Regions from separate parts of the Homo sapiens genome. Here region 2 is linked to region 1. The links are contacts of gene promoters, found by promoter capture Hi-C in human tissues and cell types (Jung and others, 2019). All regions are on one chromosome and are shown on one strand. The core of a region is centred on a gene start or on the middle of the fragment in contact, and the rest is flanking DNA. Distances in the headings are between cores, read along the strand shown.

What was found. Contacts are between HindIII fragments. The study calls those that stand out against the background at their distance.
Region 2: a contact is called between a fragment that was not itself captured here and the fragment with the promoter of EMILIN3 in region 1, in 1 of the 25 tissues and cell types used here (hippocampus).

What each region holds. Positions count from the first base shown.
Region 1 is chr20:41,364,977-41,368,541 of GRCh38, forward strand. It overlaps EMILIN3 (elastin microfibril interfacer 3), which reads right to left and starts at 1,842. Exons shown (of 4, transcript NM_052846.2): 1 at 1,492-1,842; 2 at 59-181. The coding sequence starts at 1,658. RefSeq lists an enhancer at 579-1,080. The HindIII fragment of the contact is 32,668 bases long and covers 1-3,565 here.
Region 2 is chr20:41,310,863-41,314,427 of GRCh38, forward strand. All of the region lies in intron 1 of ZHX3 (zinc fingers and homeoboxes 3), which reads right to left. Among named protein-coding and RNA genes, the nearest start is that of ZHX3, 5.1 kb to the right of the region's middle. The HindIII fragment of the contact is 4,595 bases long and covers 1-3,565 here.

The DNA.
Region 1 (3,565 bases), core at 592-3,091:
GGCAGGACTGGCGCTTGTGCCAGGGGATTCCAAGTGTGTAGGTGAGGAGTGCACTTACGTGACTGTCCCGGGGCACTTGGGCCCCCATCTACACTGCCGGTATTCAGCCTTTACGTAGCTCTCCGCTCCCTCCTGTAGGATGCAGGTCACATTCCTGTGCACCACATAGGCACAGAGGGCCCTACAGGAGAAAATGGCACCCCTGGAATATCTGGCTGAGCGAGGCCCACAGAGGCGCCTACCCTCCCACCTCCATCTGTGGGCCTCAGCAGGACTCCAAACTCCCATGTCTCTTCTGTCTGTTCTCTGTGTCCCTGGGAGCCAACGCCCTTGGTCTGGGGTCCAGCCCCGCTGCTGGTCTCTGATTCCAGCCTCCGTGATGGGTGGCCCCTGGGCTAAGCACTATTTGGAACCAGGAGCCTGATGTGGCTGCCCCTCCCTGCGTGGGGAAGAGGCCAGCCCGGATTCTCCCTCAAGTGCCCTGCCACACCCCCCCATCCTTCGCTGATTCCAAACTCCTTATCTTGGCATTTAAGGCTTCCGAGTCCCCACTCAGTGACTCCTTTGAGAGCACCATGTCTTGTCCTTCCTCCCTGCCTGGCTCCCGGGGAAATCCACCTCTCCTCGTAGTTTTGCAGCCCCTGCCTTTGGTCCTGTTCCCTTACTCTCAGAGCAGTTCTTGTACCACCTCCTCCAGGAGGCTCGCTGTGATGTACCCAGGCCCACTGAGTGTCGGTACTCTTCCTCCTACAACAGCTCTCAAATTCAGCTAGAATTCAAGTTCAGCCAGCACCCCAGGCAGAGCCTCCAGCCCACTTAACTGAGGCCAGTTCGCAAGCCACTGCCCACGAAACACCAGAAGCTGAGGCGGGGAAAGCAGGCTCCTTGATGAGCCACAAGGGCTGAGGAGGTGGCTGCCTGGCATAAGCCGACCGCTGTGGACGGCTGTGCCACAGCACAGGCCCGGAGCCAGGAGCCCGCTCTGGCTCTGCAGCCCGGCCACGCTGGGGCTCCCATGGGGTTGCTGGGGCCAGGCTGACTGCGAGAGGGCAGCGGCCGCCCGGATGCGCAGCTCTATCTCCTACCTGGCCGGGCCAGGGGAGAGAAGGGAGGCCCGGGGCGGGGGAGCCCCGCGTGCTCAGCGCGCGGACCGCCTTTCCTCCTCTCCCTCCACCTGGTCCGCTCGCCCGGAGTCTGCACACAGCGCAGCTGGAAAATGTTACTTCGCTGGAAAGGTTTCCGCTGGCACTGCCAGGATCCCAAGCCGCCGCGCCAGGCCCCCTCGGTTCCTTTTTCCTCGCCAGCCCCGCAACCTCCCGGAGCGTAGGGCGCTCGCCTGGGCAGGGGCTCGGCCCCGGGCGCCGCCCCCTCTGTGCAGCGGCCTCGGGGTGCCCGGGGCCTCGACGCCCCCCGCGGGTGCGGGCAGGTGGGAGCGGCGACGCGCGCGGGCCCATCCCTCCCTCTTCCCGCCCGCCGCCCGCCCGCGCTTACTTGTGCGGCCCCGGGCGCAGCCGCGGGCGCCATCCCGTCGTGTAGAGACTGTAGCGGGAGGCACCGGGCGGCGCAGGCCGCGCCAGGAGCGGGGTGCCCCTGGCCTGCGCCCCCGAGAGCAGCGCCGCGACGGCGCACAGCCAGACGAGCAGGCGGCGGCGGCCCATAGCGGCCCCCGCGCCTCTGCCCGGCCCCGCGCGGTGCCCCCCGCCGGGTGTCCGCCTGCAGCGCCGCGCCGCCCCCGCCGCTGGTCGGCCCGGGTCCCGCCCCGAGGGTCCCGGGGTCCCCTTCGGCCCCCGAGCTCGCTGGCCCGGCCGCCTGGCGCTTCGCGGCGGCTGCGTCCCGCGGAGTGGCCGGCGCTGCTAGCGGCTGGGGCCGCGGAGGGGAGGCGGGAGGCGGGCTCTTTGCGGATTAGCATAAACTTGGGGCCGCGCCGCTCGCCGCCGCCAGCCCCTCGCCCCAGCTCCGAGCGGACGGCCGAGGAGCCGCCTGCGAACAGGAGGTTCCAAAGGGAGCAGCCCCAGGTGGCAGGGGCGCAGGCCGCCGCGCCCTGGGAGGCCCCCCGAGCACACCAGCCACTCTGTCGCCTGCGGGCACGGGGCGAGACGCAGAGAAGCGGACCCCTGAGGCCAGCCTGGGCGTGGACTTTCCAGGAGTCGTCCACCCTCAGGATACGCTTGTCTTCAGAGTCCGTGTGAACCCGGGAACTGCTCTCCAGGGCTCTGGAGCCGAGATGGCCGTGACTGGGGGCACAGCAGCACCACCTCCCCCGCCACCTCTTTGGAATAGACCCCAGATCATCCCCGTTTGCTCGCTCTGCCTCCTGGCCCCATCATTGCCCGGGAACCTTAGTTTGATAACTCCGCTGACCTCTCCCCAGGCATCCCACCTCCCCCTTACCCCGCAACCTCTGCCACGTAGCCTGGTGGCCCGGTTGCACCTCTGGTTCTCTGGAGGCGCCTGTGTTGCCTCTCTGTCTTAGGTATGGGTTGCACCGAGCCCGAAAGGCCTATCACCGCCCCAGCCCAGCCAAAAGTGCTGTGCTTTTCGTGCAACTGAAGCTCTAAGCCGGCTGGTCAGAGAAAATCCTCAGGTCTTTCTCACAAGGCACTGCCGCGGTGAAGCCAGGCGTCGTCCACATTTTGCTTGTGAAGTTGACTCTTGGAACCCAAGAGTTGGGTTTTATCGTCGTCCTCATTCAGTATCACCTTGCTAACTCTCTAACCTGCACAGAGTCCTTCTGATTCTGTCATCAGAGCGGTACTTTCCTGGCCTTGTCTCATCCACACCGGTGGCTACAGCCGTCTGTGTCTTTGCCCCAGGAGCTGATAGGTGTACAGAACTCTGGGGCTTGCTTGGAGAGACCTCCCTCCAAATTGACCTTGAGATATGAATTAATGCCTTTTGGATAGGGTGATGGTTATCAAGGATACTGGAAGGGGCAGCTCCGAAACCCACATCTATTTCCTGCCCTTAGCTTTAGTGGCTTTTGGGTTCTGTGGGGCGGACATCTGACCCCAGCTAGGCCCATCCTGCTTTCCCCCAGGCTTTGGAATCAGAACACAGAAGCTGAAGGAATCCAGCTTCCAGGTGTAGGTTGTGTGAGTTTCTCAGGGCTGTGGTAACAGCCACAGACTCAGTGGCTTAACACACAGAAATGTATTCTTGCACATTTCTGGAGGCTAACTCCAAAATCCATGGGCCAGCAGGGCAATGCCCCCTCCAGTGGCTCTGGGGAGAAGCCTTCCTTGCCTCTTCCAGCCACTGGTGGTTCCTGGCAATCTCTGGCGTTCTTTGGTCAAGGATTCTTTGTAGCAGCATCACTCCAGCCTCTACTTTCCCTCCGCATATCCCTCTTCAGGTGACCTTTTTTTCTCTGTGACTGTGATCTGTGTCCTTTCCTCTTCTTTCTGTTTTTGTTTTTTGAGCCAGAGTCTCGCTCTGTCGCCCAGGCTGGAGTGCAGTGGCGCGATCTCGGCTCACTGCAAGCTCTGCCTCCCGGGTTCACGCCATTCTCCTGCCTCAGCCTCCCGAGTGGCTGGGACTACAGGCGCCCGCCATAATGCCCAGCTAA
Region 2 (3,565 bases), core at 390-2,889, 54 kb before region 1:
CAGTGGCGTGATCTCGGCTCACTGCAACCTCCCCCTCCCAGGTTCAAGCAATTCTCCTGCCTCAGCCTCCTGAGTAGCTGGGACTACAGGCACGTGCCACCACACCAAGCTAATTTTTTGTATTTTTAGTAGAGACAGGGTTTCACCATGTTGGCCAGGATGGTCTTTATTTCTTAACCTCGTGATCCGCCCGCCTAGGCCTCCCAAAGTGCTGGGATTACAGGCGTGAGCCACCGTGCCCGGCCAATTCTCTGATAATTTTTATAAATTCAAAACTACGGTCAGTGAAAGAACACTAAGTTAGTTATTGTCTGTCATTCACTCTTATCCAAACTCTAAATTGTTGATGAGTTTACAAGTCTTTTCTTGAGGATTTTTTTTTCTCCTTATAATAGTAATAGCTAACATTGATAGTTTTTTGTGTATAATTCTGCTCCTCAAAAGATCCTATGAGATAAGAACTATTATTTTTCTCCATTTACAGCTGAAAAAACAGACTTAGACATGTAATTTTCCTCAAGGCTTACAGCTAGAAAGTGGCAAAGGTAAAATTAGAACACAGAGCCTGAAAGCAAACTATCTATATGCTTTGGCATAGTGGTTATTAACAGAAGCTTCCCAGGAGAATATAACATCCTAACCCAAGTGTTCTTATTTTTAATGCTCTCATACATGCTTAGAAAAACAAGAGAAACCATCAGGGATTAATATTGCAGCATATTTCATATTCATTCATTCCTGCATTCATATCAGAAGGCAGTAATGAATAAGGGGGAAGGTTCTAAAGTCACATCACATAGATTAAAATCCTAATTCCACCATATTCTTAGCTATGTAACTTTAAACATTACTTAAATTCTCTAAGTTCAATTTTCTCAACTAAAAAAACAGAAGTGGTAATATAATTACCATCATCACCATACTGGGTTCTCCCGAAGATTTAGAGATAATGTGTGAACACACATAGCAATGGACCTGGTACATACGAATTCTCGAAAAAAGTAGCTATTAAAATAACTATTCAAAATGTTCTGAGGCCCTACACCTACTGGACTCTGGGCAGAGCACTGGGTGCTAGGACTGTACCATATACAGGACAAGGCTGTCCCTGCCCTCCTAGATCTTGTAGTCTCTATTGGGGGAGTAGACAATAAAGAAGAAAACAAAAGAAGGAAACATATAAATGAAGTGCTATTGAGGGGGTAAAGCCAGCTGGACTTCCTGGGTCGAGTGGGGACTTGGAGAACTTCTTTGTCTTACAGGAGGATTGTAATATGCACCAATCAGCACTCTGTAGCCAGGATTGTAAAACGCACCAATCGGCACCCTGTAGCTAGCTAGAGGTTTGTAAAACGCACCAATCAGCACTCTGTAGCTAGCTAGAGGTTTGTAAAATGGACCAATCAGCACCCTGTAAAATGGACCAATCAGCAGGACATGGACAGGGACAAATAAGGGAATAAAAGCTAGCCACCCCAGCCAGTAGCAGCAACCCACTCGTGTTCCCTTCCAGGTTGTGGAAGCTTTGTTTTTTCGCTCTTCACAATAAATCTTGCTGCTACTCACTCTTTAGGTCCATGCCATCTTTAAGAGCTGTAACACTCACCACAAAGGTCCGCAGCTCCTTTCTTGAAGTCAGCAAGACCACAGACCTACCAGAAGGAATGAACTCCGGACACACTATGAATTTTAGTGAAGTGCAAGCAATAAATGCACATGTGCTGAGATAGAGGACAATGGGGAGGAAGCTACTATAGAAGTGGTGATCAGGGAAGGCCCCTCTGAGGAGGAGATGTTTTAGCTGAGACTGGACGTTTAAGGATCTTTCTATGAGACAAGTGGAGGTCTTGAAGAGCCTGTACAGAAGAGGAGAATACGGCATGTTTGAGGAACTGAAGGTGTTCAATCTGACAAGCATGGCAAACAAGGAGGGGAGCCTGGAGAGGGAGCACGTCAGAGTAAGTGTGGATGCGAGTCCAAGTGCAGTGGAAGCCACCAAGCAGGGGGGTGGCATGCTTGGGTTTACTCTTTAGTAGGATCACTCTGGCTGCTGTGAGGAAAATGTGCTAGAAGAAAGCAACAGTGGAAGCTGGGAGACCAACCAGGAGACAGGGAATCATCCATCTGAGAGAGGTGGGTAGGTGAATTAGGAAGATGGAAAAAAGGGAGGGTTTGAGATATTCTAGAGGCTAGGCCAAAAAGCCATACAGATGGGTTGCATGTGGAGTGAGGAAATGAGAAGAATCACAGACAACTTTCAGGTGTCCAGCCTGAACAATGAATAGACAGTACTAACTAACAGTGAGACGGAAGGCTGAAGGGGAGAGTAAGGAAGGGTCAGGAATGAGGAATACAAATTTCGAAGCTTGAGAGGGAGATTGAGAGATCAGTTCTGAACCTGTGAAATTTGAGATCACTGGGACAGGAAGGTGGTAGCTAAAACTGCAAGTCTGGAACCAGAGAAAGGGTGGGGAGACGTAACAGAAAGAGTCATCTGCATCCAGGGGGTTCTAGGGTCCTGGGAATTGATGAGATCATTTAGAGAGAGAATATGATGAGAGAAGGGAGGTAGCAGAGCCAGAAAAGAAAAGAAATAATCAAAAATCACGTTGATAATTTAAAACTGAACATGGTAACACAGCCCACACAAACATAGAACTGGCTCAAATACATGCTCAATCAATACCTGTGGAACAAGTAAAAATAAATTCTTAACACATACTTTTAGGCCTTTTTTTTTTTTTTTTTTTTTTGAGATGGAGTCTCACTCTGTCGCCCAGGCTGGAGTGCAGTGGCGAGATCTCAGCTCACTGCAGGCTCCGCCTCCTGGGTTCACGCCATTCTCCTGCCTCAGCCTCCCAAGTAGCTGGAACTACAGGCGCCCGCCAACACACCTGGCTAATTTTTGTATTTTTAGTAGAGACGGGGTTTCACCGTGTTAGCCAGGATGGTCTCGATCTCCTGACCTCGTGATCTGCCCGCCTTGGCCTCCCAAAGTGCTGGGATTACAGGCATGAGCCACCACGCCCAGCCTCCTTTTAGGCCTTTAAGAAAATAATTTTCATTTAGGATTCCCCCCTTACCACCACCACTACCAACTTCTTGTATATTTGGAGGATAAGAAAAACAAGTTTTTGAAGGTCTCTGTTTGGATTGTGTTCAAGGAGATCCTTTTTCTTAAAAATAAGAAGCAACTGTTTTTTTCCAAAAAGTCACTAAAATGAAAAGTAGTCTACCTGAAATTCAAACCTTTGAAAAGCTTACGCTCACATTACGACTTCTCTGTAAAAATTCTACCCCAAGATACAATTTTCCCATCCTCATAAATTAAAATGCAATTATACATTTTACTACAGATGTTTCATCCTGAAAGATGAAACTGGTACTTTCAAACAGTTCAAGAGTCACAGGAGAGATGTAAAATTGCAAAAGGTCAAGGATTTATTTTAAAATGTTAAAAAAAAATTAAGTATACCTGCTAGGCCATCCAAAAACTGATAAGCAGGGAGAGGAAAAGGACAGAATTGCCAGAAAAATAAGTAAATATGTAACAGCTATTCCCCAA